Regions from separate parts of the Homo sapiens genome. Here region 2 is linked to region 1. Evidence: promoter capture Hi-C in 16 types of primary human blood cells and fetal thymus (Javierre and others, 2016). All regions are on one chromosome and are shown on one strand. Each heading gives the region's core, a stretch centred on a gene start or on the middle of the fragment in contact. The rest is flanking DNA. Distances are from core to core; before and after follow the strand shown.

Region 1 (4,448 bases), core at 707-3,206:
ACCCGGTGAGTGTTGGTGCAGTCCTCACTGTTTGTCCTGCCTCTTGCTACAGAGGACATCTGGCAAAAGCAGATCAGAAAATGAAAGAAGTCTGTCCCAGTTCTGCCCTCCCCAGGTGGTAGAATTTCTCATGCGATTGTTGCTTGGGGTGTGTCACTCTGTACTTGAGTAGGTGGAGGGTGAACAGACTGATCAGCTGGCTATGAGATGAGAGCAGGATGATGATCATTCACTGGGATGTGTCTGGCCAACTGGGAAGAGTCAGGTAGCTCAAGGCCTGGAGATTCTCATCAGGGAGAGCACAATGGGGCCAGGCCTATAGCTGAGGTCCAGGCACAGAGGCTGGGCTATGAGAACCAGTGTCCTCAGTGACTGCGACAATGACATGTCCTCTGTCACCACCTGCTACCGTGAGGCCCCAGCCCCGGCTGACCTGTAGACTCAGATCTGGGCCTGAGAGGGAGGCTTGACTTCAGCCCCTCTCATGAACAGAATCCACAGCACCAGGGCTGAGAGTGGTGGCAGGGCCCAGGAACAGTGATATCCAGTAGAATAAGTGTGACCCACCCCAGCCCCCCACAAACCAGAGGGAGTGCTGAGCACCTCCGCCCAGCCTCAGGCAGCTGACTTCACTAAAGGAGGCCAAAAGGAAAGAAAAATGTGACAAGTGTGTTTTGATGGCTGATGCGCAGGCTCCCAGAGAACCTTCAGAAATCAGGTGGGAGTTGGAAAGATTTTTGAATTGTCCTCCTGCAATAGCATGTTGAAGAAAAACTAGCTAAATATACTTTATGTGTAATTCCATGTCCATATGCATGATTTCTTAGGTGGCAACCAAAGGCAAGGAGTTCCTGTGCAAATGGTATTGCCAATATTAAGGTTCTCAATACAGTATATATTTTGTTGTATTCATTTGCTAGGGCTGCCAGAACAAAGTTCCACAAATTGGTTGCCTTAAACAACAAAAATGCATTGTCTCACAATTTCTGGAGGACAGAAGTCTAAGATCAAGGTGTTGGCAGTGTTGTTCCTTCTAAAGGCTGAAGGAGAATCTGTTGCAGGCCTCTCTCCTTGGCTTGAGGACAACCATCTTCTCTCTGTGTCTCTTCCCATCATCTTCCCTCCAGGCATGTCTGGGTCCAAATTTCCCCTTTTTATTATTTTTTATGTATTTATTAATTTTTTTTTTGAGATGGAGTTTCACTCTTGTTGCCCAGCCTGGAGTGCAATGGCGCAATCTCGGCTCACTGCAACCTCTGCCTCCCGGGTTCAAGCGATTCTGCTGCCTTAGCCTCCCAAGTAGCTGGGATTACAGGTGCCTGCCACCATGCCCAGCTATTTTTTTTTCTTGTATTTTTAGTAGAGATAGGGTTTCTCCATGTTGGCCAGACTGGTCTTGAACTCCTGACCTCAGGTGATCCACCCACCTCGGCCTCCCAAAGTGCTGGGATTACAGGCATGAGCCACCATGCCCAGCCAAATCTCCTCTTCTTTATAAGGACACCGGTCATATTGGATGAGTCATATTGGATTACATGCCCACTCTACTCTAGTATAACCTCATTTTAATTTGATCACATTTTCAAAAACCCTGTTTCCAAATGCAGTTGCATTCTGAGGTACTAGGGGTTAGGACTTGGACATAGACATTTTGGGGGACACAATTCAACCCTTATTTGCCAAATCACTTTTTAGAATGATTAAGGCAATTAATGATCTTCTTAAAGTGAAGAAACAACCCACAGAATGGGAGAAAATATTTGCAAACTACCCATCTGACAAGGAATTAATAACCAGAATATATAAGGAGCTCAAACAACTCAACAGGAAAACATCTAGTAATCCAATCAGAAATCAAAATCTAGTAATCCAAATAAAAAATCAGAAATGAATAGATATTTCTCAAAAGAAGACTTACAAATGGCAAACAGGCATATGAAAAGGTGGTCATCGTCACTGATCATCAGAGAAATGCAAATCAAAACTACAATGAGATATCTCACCCCAGTTAAAATGGCTTTTATCCAAAAGACAGGCAATAACAAATGCTGGTGAGGATGTGGAGAAAAGGGAACACTAGTATATTGTTAGTGGGAATGTAAATTAGTACAACCACTATGGAGAACAGTTGGGAGGTTCCTCAAAAAACTAAAAATAGAACTAGCATATGATCCAGCAATCCCAGTGCTGGGTCTATACCCAAAAGGAAGGAAATCAGTATATTGAAGAGATATCTGCACTCCCATGTTTGTTGCAGCACTGTTCACAATAGCTAAGACTTAGAAGCAAATTTACAGTCCATCAACAGATGAACAGATAAAGAAAATGTGGTACATATACACAATGGAGTACTATTCAGCCATAAAAAGAATGAGATCCTGTCATTTGCAACAACATGGATGGAACGAAACTGGAGGACATTATGTTAAGTGAAATAAGCCAGGCACAGAAAGACAAACATCACATGTTCTCACTTATTTGTGGGATCTAAAAATCGAAACCATTGAAATCATGGACATAGAGAATAGGAAGGATGATTACCAGAGGCTGAAAAGGATAGTAGAGGACTGGGGAGATAAGGTGGGAATGGTTCATGGGTACCAAAAAAAAAAATAGAAGAATGAATAATACCTACTATTTGATAGCACGACAGGGAGACTATAGTCAATAATAATTTAAGTGTACATTTTAAAATAATTAAAAGTATAATTGGATTGTTTATACCACAAAGAATAAATGCTTGAGGGTATGGATACCCCATTCTTCATGATGTGCCTATTTCACATTGCATGCCTGTATTAAAACATCCCACGTACCCCATAAATATATACCCCTACTGTGTACCCACAAAAATTAAAAATAAAAAATTTTTTAATCTTGTCAACAGTGTATTAGGACATTGTGTTGTTGCAATTTCCTTAGCATCAAGTTCCGTCTTTAAAAAAAAAAAAAAAAAGCTTACTGATAGGTTTTTAGAGCCTGGTAATTCATTCTTTTTTGTTTTTTGTTTTTGCTCCGTTGCCCAGCCTGGAGTGCAGTGGCACAATCTGGGCTCACTGCAACCTCCGCCCCCTGGGTTCAAGCAATTCTTCTGCCTCAGCCTCCCAAGTAGCTGGGATTTTAGGTGCCAGCCACCACACCCGGCTAATTTTTGTATTTTTAGTAGAGATGAGGTTTTGCCATGTTGGCCAGGCTGGTCTCAAACTCCTGACCTCAGGGGATCCACCCGCTTCAGCCTCCCAAAGTGCTGGGATTACAGGCATGAGCCACTGTGCCCGGTCGGTAATTCATTCTTAAGTAAACTGGCCATATATGAATTGGCCATTTGAGTTCTTTCACAAAATATAAGACTATTTCCCCCCTTACAGTAGCTATTGTTGAATAAGATGCCAAGAAGGACAGCCAGCAATAGAGAATCAGTGCACAGATGCACTGGCAGGATTACCGGGTACATCTCCACCTCACTAACACCTTCTAGAGGTCACCATGAGCGTGGTGGGAAGCAATTTAGAATCAGAAGCACAGGGGTTCAAATCCCAGCTCTGGGACTTTCTAAATGTGCTCTTTTTCCAACTTTTTGAAGCCTGTATTATCTTATACGAAAAATCTTATCCTCTTCACCCAACTTTTCAAGGATTAAAAAATCCTCACATGGCATATTGCTGCACCACACTCTGTGGTGCATTATGGATGTCCAGTAAGGTGCATGGACCCTAAAGCTGCTCTGAGGACCAGATTCTCCCCATGGAGTAAACAGGCCACAGGTTGTTAAGGGAACCAGATGCTCGTGAACAACAGACCATTCATATGGATTAGCGAGTTTCTGCAAGGAAGAAGAGGGCTTGATCATCTCATTATTTGTTTCATGTGTCAGAATTGAATCACAGTGGAGCATTCATTGACCTAAAATTAAATTACTTGTCATATTTTTTATTCAACCATTTCCTCCTTTCCTTGGTAAATATAATTTTTTCTCATTCTAATGAAGCTCCTTGGAAACATCAAATCACTGCTTTATTTTAATCAGAGTAATTAACCAGTGATGGATGAGGCACAGGTAGCACGTGGATTTGGTGGGGGAATCTTCAGTAAGCAAAGGGTGGTGCCAGGGTGGCTTTACATTGGTCCCTGGAAGAGTGGTGAAGTTGTGCCCACACCCCGAAATGTGTAAGATCAGCTGTGACCCCTGGTGGAGCAAGAAAGCAAGGCTGTGAAAAATATAAATTGTCTTATCATTTTCTTAGAAACAAAAGACAACTCTAACTCAATAATTACCTTCTGTGTATCTATTCTCTTAGAAGTCAAGGAAAACCCTATCTATAGAATTTATCTCATCATCAGTTTATCCTCATAAAATAGATTCTTTCAAATCAGCCCCACTTCCAATTTTGAAATGGATCTTACCCCTATTCAGATAAAGTCTGAGTTCATTGTGCACCTTCACCTTT
Region 2 (4,922 bases), core at 1,693-4,192, 230 kb after region 1:
GCCTTTGTTTTACTTCCTTTTGCCATTTAGATTAATTGAATAATTTTTATTATTTCATTTTATCTCTCTTGTTTGCTTATTACCTATAATTCATGATTTTAGTGGTTGCTCTAGGGTTTATACTATACCTCTGTAACATCACAGGCTACCTTCAAGTGATATTATATCCACTTCATGAATACTATGAGAGCCTTATAATAGTCTTATGGGATCTTTGGGGTGTCCAATTTCTGGCTGGAAACCTCTGTGGCCAGTGGCACCTTTGCCTGAGTTCTTGTCCTGTGTCCAGGAAGAATGAGATAGGCAGACGGGGAAGGGTGAAGAAGATGAAGATAAGCTTTATTAAGTGTTAAACAGCTCAGAGGAGACCCACAGTGTCCTCTCTGTAGGCAGGTCATCCCGACCTCTGCTGCTCTCAGCAGAGAGGAGGCCCTGGAGAGGGTAGTTCCTCTCTGCAGCTGGAAGTCCCAACATCTCTGCAGGTCTCTGAAGCTCTCGGCAGAGAGGGTAGCTCCTCTGTGCAGCTGGTCTCTTGTGGTCTCTCCATTCTCTCTGTCCTCTCTCTTGCTCTGGCTGAACATGGAAAAGCCCTTGGAGGGGAGGAAGTGCCTGCTGATTGGTCCATGGGCGGCCATGGGCTGGCTGGAAGAGGCACCATGAGTCCCCACTCCAGTCTGTGGGACTGGCAGCCCGTCCCCAGCCTACAGGCCCTCCCTGGCCTGAAGGTGGGGCCTTACTGAGGACCCACCCCCTTCTGCCCAGGACTTTGCCTACCGCTGCCATTCAAGGCCCTGGTACTTGTCCCCAATCCCGCTCTGAGATGAGAGGTGGGGGGCCGGGAGAGGAGACAGGCCAGGCAGCCAGAATAGACACTCCTGAGCCAGCAGGGATGGTGGGCGGGGGGGGGCTTCCCATGCGCCCGAGGGTGCAGGCCGCAGAGATGCCTGGGTGCTGTGCCTGGGAGGGTGGCTGCAGCTGCCTGCACTCAGGGAGCTCCTGCTTTTCCCCAGCTCCCGCCTGTGTGGTGGAGTGGGAGGCCCAGGTCTGCAGCCGTGGATGGTGGCTGCAGCTGCACCCCGGGGGGCAGATCCTGCCTGCTCCTGGCCCCACTCAAGAGCGCAGGGAGGCTTGGATCTACAGCTGCAGTTTGGGCAGCTGCAGTGGCACCCAGGGAGTTCCCACCCCAACTCAGAAGGGGTGGAGCTCCCACCGGCTCCATGGAGAGTGCAGCCCCAGCCTCACCTCCCTGCTGCAGCCAGCGTGATGGTAGCAACCGCTGTCATCAATAGTATATTTCCTTTTCTTCTTTCCTGAACTTTGTGCTATTTTTTCAGAAAATTTACTTTTACATATGTCACATGTCACATTACACTATTGTTTAAACAGTTAATTATCTTTTGGTGAGCTTTAAATAATAAGAAAAACTCATAAATTTACCTGTGTAATTAGCATTTCTGGTGCTCTTCATCTGTTGGTGTAAAGCCATAATTCCATCTGCCATGTCCTTTTTGCCCAAGCACTGTCTTTAATATGTCATAGGTGTCAGCTGGTGATGATTTTTTTTGGGCTTTAATTGTATATCTTTTTTTGCATATTTTAAGAAGTTTTTGGTTCACTTTTATTTTGAAGAGCTATTTTTATTGGGTACAGGATTCTAGATTGACAAGTTTTCTTTCAGTATTTTGTTTTATTCTATTTTGTTTATTTTTTTAACTTTTAGATTCAGGGTACATGTGCAGGTTTATTATATAGGTAAATTGTGTGTTGTGGGGGTTTGGTGTACAGATTATTTCCTCCTCCAGGTAATAAGCGTAGTACTCGATAGGTAGTTTTTCAATCTTCACCCTCCTTCCACCCTCCACCCTCAAGTAGGCCCTGGTGTCTGTTCCCTTCTTTGTGTCCATCTTTCAGTATTTCCTATTATACTGCTGTCTTCTCACTTATATTTTTTAAAACAATGAGAAACCTGTTATCCTATTGGTTGGTTCCCTGCATGTAATGTGTCTTTTGGCCCCGTGGTTGTTTTTAAGATCTTTCTCTTTGTTACTGGGTTTAAGCAATTTGATTATTGTATGCCTTGGGGTAGTTCCTGTCACATTTCTTGTGCTAGAAATATATATATATATATATATTTTTTTTTTTTTTTTGAGATGGAGTTTCACTCTTGTTGCCCAGGCTGGAGTGCAATGGCGCGATCTCGGCTCACTGCAACCTCCACCTCCTGGGTTCAAGCGATTTCCTGCCTTAGCCTCCCGAGTAGCTGGGATTACAGGCACCACCACCATGCCCGGCTAATTTTTTGTATTTTTAGTAGACACGGGGTTTCACCGTGTTGGCCAGGCTGGTCTGGAACTCCTGACCTCAGGTGATCCACCCGCCTCTGCCTCCCAAAGTGCTCGGATTACAGGTGTGAGCCACCGAGCCTGGCCAAGAAATTTCTTGAGTTTCTTGGATCTGTGGGTTTATAGTTTTCCTCCTGGTTTGAAAAAGTTTCAGCCATTATTTTTTCAAATATCCCCCCTTCCCTGCCCTTCTCCGTCAGTCTCCATTACACATATGTTATGTTGGTTAAAGTTCTCCCACAGCTTACTGATGCTTGTTTATTTGTTTATTTAGGTTGTCTCATCTCTGTGTGCTTTGCGTTGGGAGGTTCGTACTGTGATGTCTTCAAGTTCATTCACCTGTGCTTCTGCAGGATCTAATCTGCCAGTAATCGCATCCAGTGTATCTTGCACTGTATTCTTACATTTTCCTCAATGAATGTTTGATTTGGATCTTTTTATGTTTTTCAGATCTCTACTTAACTTTCTAGCATATAGAATAGTTATTATGATGGACATTTGGGTTATATAAAGCTGTTATGACCTTTCTTTCTCTTGTGGACATAGGCTTTTATTTCTCTTTAGTGTAAATAAGAATGGAATTGCTGAGTCATAGGTTAGGTGTATGTTTAAGTTTATAAGAAATTGTCAAACCATTTTCTAAAGTAGTTGTACCATTTATTCCACATTCTAAATACCATTTCATCTTTTCAAATAAATTTAATTATTCCAGTGGGTGAGTAATGGCCTCACTGAATCCATATGGATATTAAGTACTGATAGAATACACGGTCACATATCAGCAAATAGACATGATTAGTGCTTGACTCTAAAAGCAAATTGAATTCTTATAAGGTTATCATATAGCTGAGAGCCTTGGCTCTACAAACATGAATAGGTAGCTGAGTGGTTAGTTTTTCCAAGTGCTAATGCTTGTAATTGTGTTTGAGGAAGAACCACATGTGTATCACAGGCTGGACTGTCTCTTCTTCTGCAGGAGAGCTCAGAGAGGCTCAAGAGCTTAATGGTGATTCTGGAACACCTTTGAACCAGGAAAGCCAGTTGACTTCCTCATAACATAATTATGCTGTTTAGCTAATTACTTTTTCCAGAAGAAAAAGGGTTGAGAGTCTAGAAGTGTATGTGGATTACTTTGTCACAGAAGTAGGTGGCTCTACGGCTGAAGTCTGGAAGGGAGTGCATTTTCACATAATGATGTTGGTTGATGTAATGTTTCTAGGCACCCCATGTGGTGATTGATGAGTTGGGTGAGAGTGAACGTCCGTCTAGGACTCTGGAATTGGGAATGCTAACATGGTATCCGTGGGTCGTCTTGGGAATTTTAGCATCACCAAGATGGTTTCTTGTTCTCTGTTTGCTTGGTAAAATTCCTGTTTTTGCTCTTTACAATTCCACTAGATTTATTATTTCCCTTAAATGAAAAGGAAAAAGAAACAAACTATGAGATGAAACGTTGACAATTTCTTCCTTTACTTTTTCAGCCGGAAGAATTAACCTCGAGTCTGCACGCTTTTAAGAACAAGGCCTTTAAAAAATCCAAAGTGTGTGGAGTTTGCAAACAAATTATTGACGGTCAAGGTATTTCATGCCGAGGTAAGTCTGTGTTTATGATTCTCTCACTGATTAATCCAGAGCAAAACAAACAAGAAACAAAACGAAAACTTTTTTTCAGGAGTTTCCGAAAGTTAAATCATGGAATTCCCCTTCTTAGTTTATATGTCCCCCAACCCCCTACCCCCTTACTTAGCAGGGGCCAACCGTATTTACATAGATAAGTGCTCATGAGGACATTTTTACAGAAAGAGCAGAGTTTCCCGATGGGAGAGGAGGCAGCAATTTGTAAATTAATCATTTATTCTCAGGTCTGCTCTGAAGTGTCAGTAACTCAGGTTGTTTAGTTTGACTTTCAGATCTGTTACTCAAGTTTGCGAATGAAATGTTTCTATCTTTAGATTTCGGGTTCATTTTGGTATGGCCCCTTTCAGATCCTGTCACTAAACTAAGCCACCAGCTTGGGTACCAGATATTTAGACGTCAAGTAATGAATGGAACTTGCCAATTCTTTTGTGACTGCACATTAATAAATCTAGTAAGAGAGGTGTGACTGTAATGAATGTGGGAGTGGTGGGGGGCAGGGGCTGCTTGGCGGACCAGTGGGGTACACCACACAGAGGGAGTCACTAGGAGGACCAGGTCCTTGGAGAGTGCGGGGGCTGCTCTTTGGCATCATTTCATCTGCGGGGTTGGGGATTTCCTCTAGAAAATGTGCAGAGTCTCAGCCTGTGGGCTTCTGTGCTGTTAGGACCTCCCCCTCAGTGCCTCCTTCCCTGCAGACCCCCAGCAGATGGTCCCTGATGGCCACTTTAGAGTAGGGTGCCTGTGATGGAACGATGCACGCAGTCAAACCTTAATGGGTTGAGGATGTGACCAGGGGCCTCTAAGGGGCTCTTGGGATTCTTTTACAGTTCAAAGGCCTGAGTGTGGGTGAGAAGACTGGGGTGCCCCTCCTCTGATTCGGCCCCTTGGAGAAGTCAGTGCTGAAGAATGTGTTGGATGAGTGGTGGGTACCGGCCACCCTGG

Evidence for each region. Contacts are between HindIII fragments. The CHiCAGO score rates a contact against its expected background, and 5 or more counts as called.
Region 2: a contact is called between a fragment that was not itself captured here and the fragment with the promoter of LINC00525 in region 1, in 3 of 17 cell types (total B cells, naive B cells and M0 macrophages). The highest score is 10.0, in total B cells.

Annotation. Positions count from the first base shown.
Region 1 is chr7:47,758,984-47,763,431 of GRCh38, reverse strand. It overlaps LINC00525 (long intergenic non-protein coding RNA 525), which reads right to left and starts at 1,956. Exons shown (of 3, transcript NR_038407.1): 1 at 1,919-1,956; 2 at 1-59. The HindIII fragment of the contact is 4,383 bases long and covers 1-2,959 here.
Region 2 is chr7:47,528,049-47,532,970 of GRCh38, reverse strand. TNS3 (tensin 3) reads left to right here. Exons shown (of 31, transcript NM_022748.12): 2 at 3,824-3,935. Among named protein-coding and RNA genes, the nearest start is that of TNS3, 52 kb to the left of the region's middle. The HindIII fragment of the contact is 5,206 bases long and covers 340-4,922 here.